Regions from separate parts of the Homo sapiens genome. Here all the other regions are linked to region 4. The links are contacts of gene promoters, found by promoter capture Hi-C in human tissues and cell types (Jung and others, 2019). All regions are on one chromosome and are shown on one strand. Each heading gives the region's core, a stretch centred on a gene start or on the middle of the fragment in contact. The rest is flanking DNA. Distances are from core to core; before and after follow the strand shown.

The links. The method cuts DNA at HindIII sites, captures the fragments that hold promoters and counts their contacts. A contact is called where the count stands out against the background at its distance.
Region 1: the fragment with the promoter of ZNF598 here is called in contact with the fragment with the promoter of SRRM2 in region 4 in 1 of the 25 tissues and cell types used here (lymphoblastoid cells).
Region 2: the fragment with the promoter of RAB26 here is called in contact with the fragment with the promoter of SRRM2 in region 4 in 1 of the 25 tissues and cell types used here (spleen).
Region 3: a contact is called between a fragment that was not itself captured here and the fragment with the promoter of SRRM2 in region 4, in 3 of the 25 tissues and cell types used here (dorsolateral prefrontal cortex, lymphoblastoid cells and ovary).
Region 5: the fragment with the promoter of DNASE1L2 here is called in contact with the fragment with the promoter of SRRM2 in region 4 in 3 of the 25 tissues and cell types used here (dorsolateral prefrontal cortex, hippocampus and spleen).

What each region holds. Positions count from the first base shown.
Region 1 is chr16:2,007,726-2,011,191 of GRCh38, forward strand. It overlaps ZNF598 (zinc finger protein 598, E3 ubiquitin ligase), which reads right to left and starts at 2,096. Exons shown (of 14, transcript NM_178167.5): 1 at 2,013-2,096; 2 at 1,900-2,011; 3 at 1,799-1,898. The coding sequence starts at 2,022. LOC124903626 (a long non-coding RNA gene) reads left to right here and starts at 2,160. Exons shown (of 2, transcript XR_007064941.1): 1 at 2,160-2,377; 2 at 2,583-2,863. RefSeq lists silencers at 1,395-1,464, 1,475-1,904, 1,995-2,214 and enhancers at 1,822-2,770, 2,295-2,454. The HindIII fragment of the contact is 21,988 bases long and covers 1-3,466 here.
Region 2 is chr16:2,146,798-2,150,318 of GRCh38, forward strand. It overlaps RAB26 (RAB26, member RAS oncogene family), which reads left to right and starts at 1,828. Exons shown (of 9, transcript NM_014353.5): 1 at 1,828-2,181; 2 at 3,144-3,254. The coding sequence starts at 1,987. RefSeq lists enhancers at 829-1,380, 1,381-1,930, 1,931-2,482, 2,483-3,034, 3,035-3,521 and 1 more and silencers at 1,469-1,518, 1,529-1,798, 1,809-1,898, 1,989-2,158, 2,169-2,298 and 1 more. The HindIII fragment of the contact is 10,583 bases long and covers 1,096-3,521 here.
Region 3 is chr16:2,163,595-2,167,196 of GRCh38, forward strand. It overlaps TRAF7 (TNF receptor associated factor 7), which reads left to right. Exons shown (of 21, transcript NM_032271.3): 2 at 289-407; 3 at 2,285-2,342. The coding sequence starts at 327. Among named protein-coding and RNA genes, the nearest start is that of TRAF7, 9.6 kb to the left of the region's middle. RefSeq lists enhancers at 1-377, 787-1,560, 1,561-2,333. The HindIII fragment of the contact is 6,093 bases long and covers 1-3,602 here.
Region 4 is chr16:2,751,120-2,754,615 of GRCh38, forward strand. It overlaps SRRM2 (serine/arginine repetitive matrix 2), which reads left to right and starts at 1,519. Exons shown (of 15, transcript NM_016333.4): 1 at 1,519-1,727. SRRM2-AS1 (SRRM2 antisense RNA 1) reads right to left here and starts at 1,481. Exons shown (of 6, transcript NR_027275.1): 1 at 1,323-1,481. RefSeq lists enhancers at 399-1,241, 841-1,010, 1,071-1,360, 1,242-2,084, 2,085-2,927 and silencers at 1,541-1,850, 1,871-1,930. The HindIII fragment of the contact is 13,386 bases long and covers 1-3,496 here.
Region 5 is chr16:2,234,459-2,237,957 of GRCh38, forward strand. It overlaps DNASE1L2 (deoxyribonuclease 1 like 2), which reads left to right and starts at 1,986. Exons shown (of 7, transcript NM_001374.3): 1 at 1,986-2,102; 2 at 2,320-2,502; 3 at 2,580-2,668; 4 at 2,760-2,843; 5 at 2,918-3,191; 6 at 3,309-3,499. The coding sequence starts at 2,359. E4F1 (E4F transcription factor 1) reads left to right here. Exons shown (of 14, transcript NM_004424.5): 11 at 125-323; 12 at 401-543; 13 at 623-685; 14 at 758-1,284. The coding sequence ends at 1,114. The HindIII fragment of the contact is 25,906 bases long and covers 1-3,499 here.

The sequences.
Region 1 (3,466 bases), core at 846-3,345, 740 kb before region 4:
ACAAGCACATGGAGCCAGCCGATTCCACACGGCATCCTGGACACTTTCCTCACAATTTTCGCAAAACCTTAGTCCCATAAGGGAGGCCAAGGCAACGCCAGGGTTCAGGAGTTGAGGGTTGCAGTGGGAATTCCTGAGCACGCATGGGACACAGAATATATTCAGGGGATGGTGCTGAACTCAGTAAGGAAAAAGGAGACTAGAGTGAGGCGGCAAGCTCAAGATGGGAAGAAAATAGAACGAATGCAAAGGAGAGGAGACCAGCAAACAGCAAACTTTCCAGGAGCCCCTCCTTCAGCCCAGTAAGGCGGGGTAGGCCCTAGAGGAAGCCGGCTGGGGGCACCCAGTGCCAAACCACACCCCGGCTGACAGCTCATGTCCGCAGCCCCCAGCCACAGAGCTCCTGGAGGGCGTGGGGCCTACAAGGAATGAGAGCGGGCAGAGGCTGCCACAGTAAGCATACGCAGATGTTCACTCATGTCTTGCATCAGACCTGCAGCCTGGGTCGGGACCTCACGTGCCAAGAACTCCTTAGCGTCTTCTTTCCGGAAGGAAGCTACAGGTGTGCTGGGAAACCTAGCTGTTGGAGAGTGAGGTCATGCTATGCAGGACTGGCTGGCAAGGCAGGCCCTGGCAAAGCCAGGAAGCGCCCTGAGGAAGCCACGGGCCAAGGTCCTCTGTGACTGTTCCTGCACCCCAGATCTCCCCGGGGTCTGGGTCGGCCTCCTCCTGTCACATGACAGACTGATAGAATCTCCAAATGTCTTTTTCCAAAAAGGGCACAGACTATAAGCCCACAAATTGCTCAGAGAATTGCAGCATCTCTTCAACTCCTTTGATGTAAACGTCTACTTAAAGAAAGAAAAGGAAAAAAAGAAAGAACCTACACCTCAATACTGCTCTGCATCACTTCTGGGGAGAAGAAAGTTAGATTCCTGGCAGATGTCACCAGCCGAAGCCTTCTATGAACAAACCGGGGGAATTTCACAATGCTGGAAGCAAACAAATCTCTAAGCTCAGCAAACCAACGGGCTCCAGCCAGGTGCCCACAGCCAGCAGCTGGCAGTGCAGTGAGGGTGGAGGAACGCTGCATGGTACCCTCTGACCCCTCCACGGCTTCCAAGTCTGTACAGTCAAAAACGTCTCCCATTCACTGCGGAGATGAGCGCCAAAGGCGGGGGGCGGCGGCGAGGAGGAGGACAACTTCCTAACACTTTTCTCCCTTCCCGCCAAGAAGCGCGAGGGGGCCTTCCCCTCCGACGGGCAGGTCTCCTTCCGAGGCTAGTGTCACCTCCACTCCACAGAGGAAAACGTCAGTCTCGGAAGGAGTTTGCTCAGGGTCATCCAATGGGGGCCCAGAAACACAGCTGGGCTGAGAATGCCCAGAGTTTGACGCCCTGCTTCCAGGACGGATGGCCTCCGCAGAGTCCCCCTTGCCTTGTTTCCTCGAATGGAGGACCCTGGAAAATAAACTCCTGAAGACGAGCAGGTCACCGAGTTCTCCATCTGATCAGGACCCTTCCTGAGGCCCGGCAGGAACCCCCGGGACACGGGGGAAGTCCCCAGGCTGTCCCCACAGGGCTTGCCCCCTCCTGCAACCCGCTCGGCCGCCTCCGGCCTCCAAGCCCCAACGCCCCGCCGTCAGCCGCACGGCCGGGACCCCGCCCTGGGTGGCCCCACCAGGCCTCTCTCGGAAGCCGGCGCCGCCGGGCCCACGGCCGGACCTCAGTGAGGCAAAGTCCCCATCCGGTCGCCGGGAGCCCCGCTGCCCCCGGGCCGCGCCCCCGGCGCCCCGCACCTGGCGCAGCTCCTCGCGGCACACGGCGCAGTAGCGCTGCTCGCAGAGCACCCGCATCTTGGTAGAGCAGCGGTAGCACACCGGGTGGTCGCAGCGGCCCCAGCGCCGTGGCCTCCAGGTCTCCGCAGCACAGCACGCAGCTCCCGCCTCCCCGCTCAGGAGCTGCCGCCGCCTCCGCCTCCATGTCCGCGCGCCGCCCCTCGGCGCCCCCCGGCCGCCGCCATGGTCCGGGATCCGGCCCCCCTCTCGGCCGGTCGTGGCGCCGAGCGGCCTGGCTCCCGGCGGGCCCGCCCCTTCCGGGCAAACGTCACCGCCCCACCCAGCAACGGGCCCGCCCGGCGCAAGTGCGCGTCGCGACTTCCGCCTCAGCGCGGCGCCGGCTAGAGCGGTGGCCCTGATAGAGGCCGCTCTACCATGAGCCGACCGCTCGAAGGTCCGCGCGGCCACGCGGCCAGCCCCGGGCTCCTCTGGGCCACGCGTGTCACGTCAACACTCGCCGGGCTCCACGAACTGGCGTTGTCAGATGAAACACGGCACAACTGGTTTGCATCTCAGATGAACAAGGGGTCATGTCTTAGTGTAAGTATAGCCCAAATATTGATGGGCTAGGCTCATACTAAAATGCTGCTCCTTATCTGAAATTGACATTTAAGTGGACCTGCCGTATTTGTATTTGCTAAATCTGGCCACCTTATTAGGAAACCGGTCTCTGGTATTTGGAACACACACAAGCGTGGTCCCGCCTCCACTTCCCTAATGCCCTGTTTAAATCCCTACATGAAAGACAACGTGAAAGGCAGCACGTGGTGACGTCCATCTCGCAGCCCAGGGCAGTCTCGCCAGGCCTGCCCAGAAGGGGCCTCTGGAAGGCACGAACGGAACCTGTCCTCTTTACGCTGGGCCCAGCACAGGACGTGTTTGGATGGATGCTGCAGTAACAGGGCCTCCTCCCTACCCTTGAGGGCCAGGCACACTCAGGACCTCCCTCCCTCTGCCATCCAGAAGGCAGGTCCAGATCTAAACCCTACTGGAAAAGAGGCAGTAAATTGTATCAATGAGCCTGAACTTTACTTACTTTATTTGAGACCGGGTCTTGCTCTTGCTGTAACACAGTGGTACGATCACAGCACACTGAGGCCTCAACCTCCTGGGCTCAAGTGATCCATGCCCAGTGAACTTGGACTTTAGAAACAGACACAAATGGGCTTGAAACCCCAATTTTGCCACTTGAAAAAAGCTGTCAGGCACAGTGGCTCAAGCCTGTAATCCCAGCAGTTTGGGAGGCTGGGTGGCCCGGATTGCTGGAGCCTGGGAATTTGAGACCAGCCTGGCCTACACAGTCAGGCTCCATCTCCACAAAAAAAATTTTTAGGCCGGGCGTGGTGGCTCACGCCTGTAATCCCAGCACTTTGGGAGGTTGGGATCACCTGAGGTCAGGAATTGGAGACAAGCCTGACCAAAATGGTGAAACCCCATCTCTACTAAAAATACAAAAATTAGCCGGGCGTGGTGACATGTGCCTGTAGTCCCAGCTACTCGGCAGCCTGAGGCAGTAGAATCTCTTGAAACCGTGAGGCAGAGGTTGCAGTGAGCCGAGATCACGACAATCACGCCACTGCACTCCAGCCTTGGCAACAGAGCGAGACTCCATCTCAAAAAAAAAAAAAA
Region 2 (3,521 bases), core at 578-3,077, 600 kb before region 4:
CTCCCCTCCCCGCCTGGCCTCCCACTTTCTCCAGCGCGCCTGCCTCCTTCTCTTCCTGGGGGCCCCATCCGCACTCCTCCCCCTGCAGGATGCCCTACTTGCACCCAACTCCTCCTGCTGCCCGCGCCCTGGGGGTACCTGAGCAGCAGCTGGCAGGACGGGGTCCACTGGACTGGGAGTCCACTGCCCAGGACCCTGGGGCCAGTGCACAGCAGCTGCTGAGGCCCCCAGCTCAGACCCTGGGCCAGCCATCCTGAAAGAGGCCTTGTAGCGCGGGTGGACACCTGGAGTCCCCAGGGCTGCAGCTGCAGAAGCTAAATGCCTCTACCCAGGCCCAGTGCACACACACTGGGGGTTGGTCTGGAAGAGCTGGGGGGCCAGAGGAGTGAGACAAGGAAGGGTTCTGAGAGGGCTTCCGGGTTTGACCCCCAGCTCTGCCAGGTTCCTGGGGATTAAGTCTACAGGGATTTCTGCCATGGGACGGTTTATGTTCTCTGGAGCTGGAGATCACAGGAACAAATCCTAGCTCTGCCCTTCCTAGCCTGCTGACCTTGCACAGGCTCCTTGCCTTTCTGGGCCTCGGTTTCCCCATCTGGACACTGAGGGCAGTACCCACCTTGCAGGATAACTTTGAAGAGGTCGTGTGCCTGGCACACAACAGTGCTTGCTGTAGGGCAGGCTTCCACGGCCTCTGCCAGGCCCTCTCGAGGAATCACTCTGCTGGGCAGTGCCCCCCATCTGTGTTTTCTCAGGCCTCTGACCCGAGAGGCAGCCAATTGTTTGGACTCTGGGCACTGCCAGCTGGGAGGGCTCAGGTCTCTGAAGGGCCCAAGGTCCTGGTGACAGCTGTCAGGTCTCCGGGGACAGCTGGGTCATCTCTCCAGCTCCCAAAGAAACACCAAGAAGCCCCTGCATGCCAAGGACACCACCCCTCTGGACCACTGTGCCCCAGCTCTGACCACTGCAGTCCCATCTTCTCTGTGAGAGGGGGTGACAGAGCTCCAGTGCAGCCCAGGTTGGGGAGGTGGGTCTGCCAGGGACCAGCTTAGGATTTGGAGAATCGGCCCTGGCCACCTGAAGGTCCGAACCTGGAGGAGAAGGACAAGGGGCCAGCCACACAGCCTGGGCAGGGGCCTCTGCTTTCCACCTTTCAGACCCTGAGGGCAGAGTCCCGTGGGAGGGGACCCTCAGGGGGCCGGGGGCTGGCTGCCACAGCGACTTCCTCCTTCCCGCAGATCCCCAGGCGTGCACAGCAGGCAGAAGCTGTGGGGGAGATCGCAGCGCCCGCTGTGTCCTCCCGGTGACCAGCTGTCACCTGAGCCCAGGGCGCCTGCCCCAGCAGCCTGGTGTGTTTGCCAAGCCAGGGCTGGAGCTTCCTGGACCCGCCTACCCTGGAGGGGATGGAGCAGTGAAGGGCACCGGGCCAAGCGCTAGGCATCTGGGGCTAAGGAGACAGAAGCCCGCGGTGCCCGTCCATGCGGGCCCTCTGCCCCAGCACCCACATCTCAGGACACCCCTTCCTCCCAGGTCTGGCGGTCCAGTTTGGGGGTCACCGAGCTGGGGTGGTGTGCAGCCAGCAGAGGGGATTCAGGATCCCGGGGTGACTCCTGGCCCAGGCCTGTCACCCCACAGCTGGCTCCTGGCCCCAAGGCAGCCACGGGCAGGGGTCGTGATCGGGGGCGGGACGGGGCCCGGACCTCCTGACCGCCCCCCACCCCCCGCCGAGCGGGGGTGTATTTGCATGTCCCCGCCCCACGCACGGCATTGGCGGCGGCGGCGGGAGGCCGGGCCTGAGTGGCTGCGCGCCCGTGGAGCGGCGGGGGCGGGGCGCGAGCCGGGCGCCCGGGATGATGCCGCCGCCGCCGCCGCCGCCGCCGCCGCCGCCAGGGGAAGGGTTCGGGTCCGGGTCGGGCTCGGCGGGCGCGGGGTGCGGGACGGCCCAGGGCACGGCGGCTGCAGCGGGAGCACACTGAGCGCCCGCCCGCCATGTCCAGGAAGAAGACCCCCAAGAGCAAAGGGGCCAGCACCCCCGCTGCCTCCACGCTGCCCACCGCCAACGGGGCCCGACCGGCGCGCTCCGGGACTGCGCTTTCCGGCCCCGACGCGCCGCCCAACGGGCCCTTGCAGCCCGGCCGGCCCTCGCTTGGCGGCGGTGTCGACTTCTACGACGTCGCCTTCAAGGTGAGCCAGGCACCCGCCCCCCAGGCCAGCGCAGCAGGTGGCGCCCGGCCTGAGCCAAGGGTTGGGGGTCGGACAGGGGGTGCAGGGCCCGCGGCCCCAGGGCGCGGAGCCGACGCGGGAGGAACCCCGTGGGGCTTGCACGGTGCATCGTGCACACACAGCTGTCCATCCCAGGTCTGGGGTATCCAACAGCTGGCAGGGCCTGTCCCCCACCCCCCAGGCGGCATGGTGGCACAAGGGGTCCCGCGCCCCAGTGCCCTGGCCCCCGCCCGGGGTCTCACCATTTCCCGTATGCTGCCCTCCCTCAACCCAGCGGCTGTGGGCCTTTTTTTTTTTTTTTTTTTTTTGCTGGGGGGAAGAGGTTTGCCAGATGGATGGGGAACCCTGGGACTCCAGACCAAGGCAGAGGCTGTGTGGACTTGGCAGGGGGCTGGGAGGACCATTTTGGGTTTGGTAGCACAGGTTTCGGGGAGAAGGCCTGACTGCTGCCCACTTGCACCTCCCCCCAACCTCAGACTTGGCCCAGGTCCCTCTTCAGATCGAGATCTGATCCTAATGGGGCAAATTCCTCGAGCCTTGCTGGGGTCATGTCCCTACTGGGATGTGGAGAAGCCCCCGGCAGAGGCCTCCCCAAGTCTCTTAGGAGGTACCCAGCTGCCACCCCACCTGCTCCCCTCCCAGATGCTGTCCACCGTGTGGGGGTATGGACGTTAGGGAGGGTCCGGGATGCAGGTGGCTGCCCTCACTCCCCGCTGACTGAGACGGCCACTGTGCAGAAGGACAGAGCAGCCCCAGCCTTTCAGAGGCATACGCTGGGTGTCCAGCCCATCGGGGTCCCTGGCCCCGCTGAGCCTGCAGGCCTGGGCTGCCTCCCTCCACTCCTGCTCCTCACCTGCAGCCCCCTTCTGACCAGGCCAGCTCAGGGCAGACCAGACTCCCCCCAACCCTCCTGCTTGTCCTAGGTCATGCTGGTGGGGGACTCGGGTGTGGGGAAGACCTGTCTGCTGGTGCGATTCAAGGATGGTGCTTTCCTGGCGGGGACCTTCATCTCCACCGTAGGCATTGACTTCCGGGTGAGTGGAGGCCCTGGCCTGGCCCCACATCAGAGTCCCGCCGGTACCCGAGCAGCAAGTTCTCTCTGATCCCCATGGTACCAACAGGCTCGAGGCCTGGACCCCAGAAGCTGCCTGCCTCGACCTTCCAACACCTGGGCTGGTGGCTGCACCCGACAAGCATAGTTAGTTGCCCTATGCCAGGGGCTGGCATTACCGAGGGACCATATCCTGTGCCTTGGGGGAGGCGGACACTGTTGCCTACAGGGTGGTGGGTCAGAGGAAGTC
Region 3 (3,602 bases), core at 323-2,822, 590 kb before region 4:
CCCTCCACCTCGGGGAAGAGCTGGATGGGCTCTTCGGGAGCTCAGAAAGGCTAAGCCTTGAGGGACGGTGACGCAGAGCCGCCTGCCTGCCCGGGCCTCTGCATACCTGGGATCGGGGTGAAGGACCTTTGCCTCCTAGAGGCCTGCCTGAGCCGGGGCTGGTGGTGGAAGGCTGCTGCGGCGGCCCCACGGTGCCCCACAGCAGGTCTGCACACTTGCAGCAGCCCGTCTGACTCACAGGGGCCTGGGCTCCATCTCTCAAGCCCCTCATTTGTGCTCCACCCACAGGAGGTGCTTCCCAAGGACCGTAGATGCCTCTCTAGAGCATGAGCTCAGGCAAGAGTGCCCGCTACAACCGCTTCTCCGGGGGGCCCAGCAATCTTCCCACCCCAGACGTCACCACAGGGGTAAGGGTGTGCCCCTCTGCAAGCCCAACATCCCCAGGACCCCCAGCATGCCCCAGGGATCTGGTGTTGCCTGCAGAGCTCCCAGCGCAGTCCCGTCCCGAGCTGGGGTCTCAGGGGAGCTCGGTGGGGGGGGGTGTGGTGTGTGTGTGTGTGTGTGTGCGCGCGCGCGCGCGCGCGCGCACGCGTGCGTGTGTGGTTGGGGCGTGTTAGTGCTGTGTGGCGCGGCCTGGTTGCATGGTTAAGCGTGTGAGTGCTGCGTGGCGCGGCCTGGTCGCATGGTTAAGCGTGTGAGTGCTGCGTGACCTGGCCTGGTCGCATGGTAAAGCGTGTTAGTGCTGCGTGGCGCGGCCTGGTTGCATGGTTAAGCGTGTTAGTGCTGCGTGGTGCGGCCTGGTCGCATGGTTAAGCGTGTGAGTGCTGCGTGGCCTGGCCTGGTCGCATGGTTAAGCGTGTTAGTGCTGCGTGGCCTGGCCTGGTCGCATGGTTAAGCGTGTGAGTGCTACGTGGCCTGGCCTGGTCGCATGGTTAAGCGTGTGAGTGCTGCGTGGCCTGGCCTGGTCGCATGGTTAAGCATGTTAGTGCTACGTGGCGCGGCCTGGTCGCATGGTTAAGCGTGTTAGTGCTGCGTGGCGCGGCCTGGTCGCATGGTTAAGCGTGTGAGTGCTGTGTGGCGCGGCCTGGTTGCATGGTTAAGCGTGTGAGTGCTGCGTGGCGCGGCCTGGTCGCATGGTTAAGCGTGTGAGTGCTGCGTGGCCTGGCCTGGTCGCATGGTTAAGCGTGTTAGTGCTGCGTGGCCTGGCCTGGTCGCATGGTTAAGCGTGTGAGTGCTGTGTGGCGCAGCCTGGTCGCATGGTTAAGCGTGTGAGTGCTGCGTGGCCTGGCCTGGTCGCATGGTTAAGCGTGTTAGTGCTGCGTGGCCTGGCCTGGTCGCATGGTTAAGCGTGTGAGTGCTGTGTGGCGCAGCCTGGTCGCATGGTTAAGCGTGTGAGTGCTGCGTGGCCTGGCCTGGTCGCATGGTTAAGCGTGTGAGTGCTGCATGGCCTGGCCTGGTCGCATGCTGAAGCGTGTGAGTGCTGCATGGCCTGGCCTGGTCGCATGGTTAAGCGTGTGAGTGCTGCGTGGCCTGGCCTGGTCGCATGCTGAAGCGTGTGAGTGCTGCGTGGCCTGGCCTGGTCGCATGGTTAAGCGTGTGAGTGCTGCATGGCCTGGCCTGGTCGCATGGTTAAGCGTGTTAGTGCTACGTGGCGCGGCCTGGTCGCATGGTTAAGCGTGTTAGTGCTGCGTGGCGCGGCCTGGTCGCATGGTTAAGTGTGTGAGTGCTGTGTGGCGCGGCCTGGTCGCATGGTTAAGCGTGTGAGTGCTGCGTGGCGCGGCCTGGTCGCATGGTTAAGCGTGTGAGTGCTGCGTGGCCTGGCCTGGTCGCATGGTTAAGCGTGTTAGTGCTGCGTGGCCTGGCCTGGTCGCATGGTTAAGCGTGTGAGTGCTGTGTGGCGCAGCCTGGTCGCATGGTTAAACGTGTGAGTGCTGCGTGGCCTGGCCTGGTCGCATGGTTTAGCGTGTTAGTGCTGCGTGGCCTGGCCTGGTCGCATGGTTAAGCGTGTGAGTGCTGTGTGGCGCAGCCTGGTCGCATGGTTAAGCGTGTGAGTGCTGCGTGGCCTGGCCTGGTCGCATGGTTAAGCGTGTTAGCGCTGCGTGGCGCGGCCTGGTCGCATGATTAAGCGTGTGAGTGCTGCGTGGCGTGGCCTGGTCGCATGGTTAAGTGTGTGAGTGCTGCGTGGCCTGGCCTGGTCGCGTGTTAGGCATGTGAGTGGGCTCCACATGTGCACGTCCTCCTTGTGTCCCGGAATGAGGCCAGGTCTCCTCCGTCCTCCCTCTAGACCAGAATGGAAACGACCTTCGGACCCGCCTTTTCAGCCGTCACCACCATCACAAAAGGTGAGCCCTTAAGCCAAGGCCAGCCCAGGCTGGGAATAACCGGGGCACCCCCATGCCCACCCTGCTAAGGACTGAGGGACACTTCCCGGTGAGCTGGTGTTGGGTGCCAGTGCTGGGCGCGGGCAGCCTCACACCGCAGCCTGTGTCCTCACAGCCTCTCAGCCCTGGGCCTCCCCACTGGACAGGAGTCGGGTGTCCTGCTCCTTGTGCCTCGGTGACTGTGCTGTGCCCTCTCTCCCTGCCCTCTTCATCCCCTCTAGGGAGGCTTGCCCTGACATCTCCAGCACCACCACACAGCCCTGTCCCTTGTCACAGTGATCCCCAGCTTGTCCCCAGTCTCAGGCTCCTGGCCAGCCTCCGAAAGGTCCCGTGTGCCCGGAGGTCTTCTCTTGAGTTTGGCCCTAGGGCTTCAGTAACAGTGCTGCAGTTGTGACATGTTAATAGGAAGGGAGGGAGAGTGGAAGAGATCCATAAGTCTGGTTTGTTTTTTTGAGACGGGTGTCACTCTGTCACCCAAGCTGGAATGCAGTGGCGCAATCTTGGCTCACTGCAACCTGTGCCTCCTGGGATCAGTCCTGCCACCTCAGCCTCCCAGGTAGCTGGGACCACAGGCACCACCACACCTGGCTAATTTTTTTTATGTTTGGTAGAGATGAGGTCTCACCATGTTGCCCAGGATGGTCTCAAATTCCTGGGCTCACGTGATCCTCCTGCCTTGGCCTCCCAAAGTGCTGGAATTACAGGCATGAGCCAGCAAGCCAAGCCCAATAAATCTTCACCTGCACAAGACCACTGGGCGGGATACACGACAGAAACCTGAAGCTTCCCTGCTGCTTCTCAGTCCTATCCCCTAAAAACCAGAGTGCTGCGCTTTGAACGCAAGCGCCGTGCTCAGGGAGACCATGCGGAAGTGGCAGTGCCTTCTTCCCGAGGTGCAGGGCCAGGGACCCTCATTCCGGGGTGGGGTTCTGGGGTGACTTTGTTCTCTCTCCTTTCTGGCACTCTGCCCTTTGTAGAAGCACACTGGCTGCTAATTAGCTTTTTAATTGCTCTGATAAACCTGGCCATGGGGTCATAGGGCCGCCAAGGACACCTGCTTACAGTAGCGCCTCTTTGCTGCTGGTGATCCCCTCAGGGGCTCTCCAGGGGCCCTCTTTTTTTTTCTAATCCTACCCCCCAAAAAACGGTGCCTTTTCATCTACCCTTAGAAGCCCCATGGCCCCTGTCACACGGCGGAAGGTACCCATGATGGGGCAGGGC
Region 4 (3,496 bases), core at 269-2,768:
TCCCACGGGCAAGTGAAAAACAAATCTTAAAGCCGGATACGGGCCGGGCGTGGTGGCTCACGCCTGTAATATCAGCACTTTGGGAGGCTGAGGTGGGCAGATCACCTGAGGTCAGGAAATCGAGACCAGCCTGACCAATATAGTGAAGCCCCGTCTTTACTAAAAATACAAAAATTAGCCAGGCGTGGTGGCACACGCCTGTAATCCCAGCTACTCGGAAGACTGAGACACGAGAATCACTTCAACCTGAGAGACAGGTTGCAGTGAGCCGACAACACACCATTGCACTCCAGCCTGGGTGACAAGTGCGAAACCACGTGAAAAAAGAAAGAACAACAACAACAACAAAAAACAAGGGCCAGATAGGGTGTCATGCACGGGTAGTCCCAGCTACTTGGGAGGCTGAGGTCGGAGGATCGCTTGAGCCCCAAATTCGAGAACAGCCTGGGCAAAACCCTGCCTCTTAAAAACACCCCCAAATCGTAATAACAAATATAAATCCTTGCACTCAAATGGACAGTTCATTACGTGGTACCGCGTCCTGTTGCGGATCAAGGCCACCTGAGTTGGTTAGGACAGCTAAGCGGGACGTCCAGGGCTGCTCGCCAGCGGTGGGTCTAGATATGAACTTGTGCTTGAGCAGCCCAGCGTCTTACAACTCTGCTGTGAGGACGGCTGGCTGATTATCAGGCCCAGAATCACGGGCTTAGAAACATTAACAGGAAGTACGGTACCGAAAAGTGGAAACTTTAAGGTGCTTATTATTTTCCTCCTGCCTTGTTCCTGTATGTGCCGCTTCACCGGTATCACGTCCTGGGTCTGGTGGGACCCCGGCCTGGCTGCCCTACCGGAAGCTAAGAAAACTCCTCCCCCAGGGGTGGCCGTCGGGCCTCAGCCCGGTCTACAGCGGGAGAACGTGGCCCATGCTACGGGTAACTGGTTGGGCCCCTGGTGCAGGTCTAGGGCCTGCAGCCAGGCTCGGGGCCTCCGGGGGTGCCCGCTGGCTGGGGTCTGAGGCGGCTTCTCTCGGGTACGGGAAGGCGGACTGCTGTGCAGCTGCGGGCTCGCTCGGGAAACCCAAAGTCACACGAAAGCGGCAGCACCACCGCGGCTGGGATATCGTCTCCCAACATGGGGAGACAAAATGGCCGCCACGCCCCGAGCCGAAATTACATCCGGGCTCCGCGACACGCCCGAACCACAACTCCCAGAATGCTCTGCATCGACAGCGGGAGACGAGACGCGCTCGGGCGTCGCTTTGCTGCCGCTAGGCCCTGTGCTCCTCCCCGCAGCGGAAGGCCTACGAATACGCGGTGTCTTACGTCGCTTCCTCCGTTCTTCGTTGCACTGGCCAACGGGACGCTTAGTCTTTCGGCAACGGGGTGAAACCTTCCTTGTGCCTGAAAAAACGGTACTTCGCGGTGTGGCTTCGGCGCCTGCGCAAAAGGCCGCGGGGCGCACTCCAGTTCCCGGCAGGCCCCGCGACGCGCGTTTGCGTGCTGACGCACGCAGTTAGTCGTGCTGACGTGCAGCGCGGCCCAGGCGGGGTGCGAGTGGCGCAGTTGGAGCCCGTTGCGGCCCCTGAGGAAGCGAGGAGGCGTCGGCGTCGGCTGAGGCGGGCGGACCGGCGAGGCGAGGCGGCGGCCCCAGGCCCGAGGGACTCGGGAGCTCGAGCAGCGGCGGCGGCAAGACCTCTCCCCCTCGGAGGCGGCGGGCGGAGGCGGCGGGTGAGAGGGTGAGGGAGCCAGCGAGCCGGGTGGGGGAGGGGCGGCGGCCCCGGCGCGAGGCCAAAGCGCGCGGAGAACTGCCCAGGCCGCCGAGCTCCTCCGCGCGCACGCGCGCTCGACGCCCTTCGCTGGCGCGGACGCCCTCGCCTCCCTTCCCCCTTCCCGCCGTTCCTGTCGCGCGCGGGCTTCACCCCCCCCCGCCCCTCCCCCATGACAACGGCGTTCGCAGCCGCCTGTACTCGGGTTCGCGAGCGCCCTTGGTGAGGGGGGAGGGCGCGCGCCTCGGCTTCACTCCTCCCCCCAACATGTGCCGCCGAGGTGGCCTTCCTGCAGCTGCCGTTTTCGGCCCTTAAGTGGCGGGGAAGGGGCGGCGGCGGGGGGCTTGCTCCTGGACCCTTGCCCCCGGTTCCAGATCTCCTTTCCTCGGGCTTCTCTTCGGCGTTGGGCTGCCCGTGTCGGGGGCCTCCCAGACTGCGGGACGCCGCGCAGCCCCCTCCCCCATTCCGCAAGGCCGAAAATAGGCCCCCGGCGCTGCGGGGAGGGCCTTGAACTTCGTGGGCCGGATTTAAATGGTTTAGGATTCCCGGCTATCAGCCTTTGAGTTGTTAGTGGCGGGGAGAAACCCCAAATCTTAAAAACTGTGAAGAAAGTGAACGTGTTCAGTTTACATTTGTAAGGTAGACCGTGCGTTCCCTTTTTACACTTTTTCAACGTCTCCCGAGAATTCGTGTTCAAACTAAGGAGGCTTTTGGAGACCTTCGTTGGGAAGAAAACGCCAGACTCATATATAAGTTTTCTGGTTGGTTTCAGGCGTTCTTTGGCACACAGCTCTTCTGAAGCTTGGTTTCCACTCGGCTTCAGTTAGGACGAATCTGGATCAGAATTTCAGAGTGTTGTGTTGTCTTTCATCCTAAGTGCGTGGGCTTAGGGCTCTTCTAAAGCTACTATTTTAGCTTTCTGGGTTCTTTGTGTCCACTCAGCCGCTCTGGAGCGCCCCGGTGCTGAGCTGGCTGTGCTTGCTGATGTCCATTTTTTTCGACAACCCTTGTCTCCCCTTTTTCTCCCCTTTTGGTACCGTTTTCTTTTTTGCATATTTTACTGTTGAATTCAAATATATCTTTCTACTTCATTGTTAGCTTACCACTCGGATAATTTCCCAACAGAAAAGGGTGTTTTTGTCTTCCTTTGTACTTTTTACTTTCTGCTTTTAACTTGGGTAACTTTTGCATATCCACTGTCTATGGCCCCCACTTTAAGAGTTTTGTAATATCGTTTGGTTTGGTGATTTGTGTGTGGTGTTGATCTTCCTACTTTCTGTGTCTTAACACACCCCTTAGATGCCGTGGGGTCGTCGTCTTTTTTTGTGGGGTGGACTAGGTGGCTCATTCCCTAAAAGTTCTCCGAAACATTGTGACCTAATATCCTTTGCTTAGCACCTACTGGTTTTTCTTTTTTTTTTTTTTCCGAGACGGAGTCTAGCTCTGTTGGCAGGCCGGAGTGCAGTGGCGCGATCTCGGCTCACTGCAACCTTCCGCCTCCCGGGTTCAAGCGATTCTCCTGCTTCAGCCTCTGGAGTTGCTGAGATTACAGGCAATCGCCGCCGCCCAGCTAATTTTTGTATTTTTGGTAGAGATGGAGTTTCACCGTGTTGGCCAGGCTGGTGTCAATCTCCTGATCTGGTGATCCGCCCACCTCGGCCTCCCAAAGTGCAGGTGTTACAGGCGTGAGCCACCGTACCCGGCCTGGTTTTCCTTTCTTAAGGAGTGGGG
Region 5 (3,499 bases), core at 736-3,235, 520 kb before region 4:
CCCCCTTCCCTGCCTCCACCATGCTCAGTCTTGACCCAGCCCCTCCCTTGGGCCACAGGCGGGAGGGGAGAGCTGTAGTCTGTTGTGGCCAAGGCCAGGCTGGCACTGACAGGTGTCTCCACAGAACGCACAGCAGGTGCACTTCAGGACACACCTGGAGGAGAAGCCGCACGTGTGCCAGTTCTGCAGCCGTGGCTTCCGAGAGAAGGGCTCACTGGTGCGGCACGTGCGACACCACACAGGCGAGAAGCCGTTCAAGTGCTACAAGTGCGGCCGTGGCTTCGCCGAGCACGGCACGCTGAACCGGCACCTGCGCACCAAAGGTCTGGGCCGGTGGAGGTGGGAGGGGGAGGGGAGGGGGCCGGGGCTTGCCTAGCCCTGACCGAGTCCCCACCCACAGGGGGCTGCCTGCTGGAGGTGGAGGAGTTGCTGGTGTCTGAGGACAGCCCCGCGGCAGCCACCACCGTCCTCACGGAAGACCCGCACACAGTGTTGGTGGAGTTCTCGTCCGTGGTAGCTGACACCCAGGAGTATATCATCGAGGTGGGTGTGGGGCCCTGGGGCCGTGCTGGGACCCAGGGGCAGCCAAGGCTGACCTCTGTCCTTCTGCCCATCTGCCCAGGCCACTGCGGACGATGCGGAGACCAGTGAGGCCACGGAGATCATCGAGGGCACCCAGACAGAGGTGAGGGGTAGGGCAGGCGGGGGCGGGGAGGCTCCCTGGCACAGCCGCTCTTGCTGAGCCGTGGCCCTGCAGGTGGACAGCCACATCATGAAGGTGGTGCAGCAGATCGTGCACCAGGCTAGCGCCGGCCACCAGATCATCGTGCAGAACGTCACCATGGACGAGGAGACGGCGCTGGGCCCAGAGGCGGCTGCCGCCGACACCATCACCATCGCCACCCCCGAGAGCCTGACAGAGCAGGTGGCCATGACGCTGGCCTCGGCCATCAGCGAGGGCACTGTGCTTGCCGCCCGGGCAGGGACAAGTGGCACTGAACAGGCCACTGTGACCATGGTGTCATCAGAGGACATCGAGATCCTGGAGCATGCAGGCGAGCTGGTCATCGCCTCGCCGGAGGGCCAGCTGGAGGTGCAGACGGTCATCGTCTAGCATGAGGTCTGCGGGGTCCTGGCCGGGCAGGGACAGGGCAGAGGACTCTGAGCGCCCCACCCATGCCTGCCTGGCCTGGTAGAGAAGATGGCACAGGATGGAGGCGCCCCAAGACGGACAGTGTACATAAGAGTTTCTTGTTGCTTTACAATAAAACATGAGAACCTGCAGCTTGTGATGTTGTGGCAGTGGCAGCCTCCGCGGCTGGTGCCACCACCTTTGCCCAGGCCCCCGCAGCAGCACCTGCCTCCCAGGCCACTCCTAGACTCACGTGCCTGGCCGCCCCACCCAGGGGCTTCTGCCAGCCCTGGCGGCGCCTTGGTGCTGTGTGGGTGTCATTGGCATGTTGACCAACAGCCTCCTGCCCTGCCCAGCTGGAGCTGTGCCCCCAGCTGCGCTGCCTGAGGCCTGTGGGTGGGTGGGAGGACCAGGGACGGGGACAGGGAGATCTGGGAGCCTCGGCCTCCACCGCAGGGTGAGCAGGTGGAGCAGCAGCAGGAGATGCTGGGTAGGGAGTGTGGCTGGTCCTACCTGCGCTGCCTTGCTTTCCCTGAAGGGATTCTGCTCAGGGAGGCAGAGTCTAGGCGACCTAATTTCTAGGGGCGAGGACAAGAACACAGCCGCACCGGGATGTGGCTGACCGTCTACCTCCCTCCTAGGGGGCTGGCAGGGGCTTCTGGGACGGTTTTGGGACAGGTCTGGGGCACCAGAACCGGCTCAGGCAGGTCTCCCACCCCTTACCCTGGGGGTCTCCATGGGAATGAAAGCCAGGAGTTCATCAGGCACCCAGCTGAGTCGAGGGGGCGGGACCCAGTGCAGCCCGGCCCCTCCCTGGCCCAGGACCTCAAATACCGGCCCCTGCCTTGGTGCCAGAGCTACTGCCAGAGGGAGTCAGTGCAGTCCTGTGTCGGACACGCCCGCAGCCTGGACCCGGGATCCCCATCCCCCTAGGATCTCTGAGCCTCGGGCCTCTGCACCCACATCCAAGGTGAGTCTCTCGGCTGCCCTGAGCTGGGGCTGGATGGGCCGGACCCTCCATTCCGGCTGCAGCTTCCCGCGCAGTGAGAAGGCAGCGGTCCCTGAGAGCCCAGCAGTGCCCTGGGAGCCTGCAGAACGCAGGGGCGGATTCCGCGTCGCACTGGCCGTCAAGGGGCGGCCGCGGAGGGAAGGGGTGGGTCGGTGGGTCTGACAGCGGGTCTGCGTAGGCGGCAGCGTCTGTCCCTCCCAGCCTCTCGCTCCGCGCCATGGGCGGGCCCCGGGCTCTGCTGGCCGCACTCTGGGCGCTGGAAGCCGCCGGGACCGCCGCGCTTCGCATCGGAGCCTTCAACATTCAGAGCTTCGGTGACAGCAAAGTGTCGGACCCCGCTTGCGGCAGCATCATCGCGAAGGTGGGGCCCGGGCCGGGGCGGGGCGGCGTTTAGGGGTGCTGACCGCGCTGACCCCCGCACCCGCCGCTCCTCCCCAGATCCTGGCTGGCTATGACCTCGCGCTGGTGCAGGAGGTGCGAGACCCAGACCTCAGCGCCGTGTCCGCGCTCATGGAGCAGATCAACAGGTGTGGTGGGCAGGGCCCCTCGTCGCGACCCCCCGCCGGGATCTCGCCCCGGCGCGGCGCCCCGACCCTGAGCGGGCCCCTGTCTCCGCAGCGTGTCCGAGCACGAGTACAGCTTTGTGAGCAGCCAGCCCCTGGGCCGGGACCAGTACAAGGAGATGTACCTGTTCGTGTACAGGTGAGGGGCGGGCCGCAGGGAGGGGCGCGCGGGGCCGCAGGTCGGGGGCTCAGCGGGTCCTCCCCATCTCCTAGGAAAGACGCGGTGTCGGTCGTGGACACCTACCTGTACCCAGACCCCGAGGACGTCTTCAGCCGCGAGCCCTTCGTGGTCAAGTTCTCGGCCCCCGGCACCGGTGAGCGGGCCCCGCCCCTCCCCTCCCGCCGAGCTCTGACGCCCCCACCCCTTCCCGCAGCAGCACAGAACCTGGTGCTGATCCCGCTGCACGCGGCGCCGCATCAAGCCGTGGCGGAGATCGACGCGCTCTACGACGTGTACCTGGACGTGATCGACAAGTGGGGCACCGACGTAAGCCCACCCCTCGGTCCCGGGGTCCCTGCAGGCGCGCCCCGGGGGTCTGGTTCATGAGGGCGGGACCTCGACGGCTCCTGCGGCGGCTCAGACACGGCTCCGCGGCGCCCGCAGGACATGCTGTTCCTGGGCGACTTCAACGCCGACTGCAGCTATGTGCGGGCGCAGGACTGGGCCGCCATCCGTCTGAGGAGCAGTGAGGTCTTCAAGTGGCTCATCCCTGACAGCGCCGACACCACGGTGGGCAACTCAGACTGCGCCTACGACCGCATTGTGGCCTGTGGCGCCCGCCTGCGCCGGAGCCT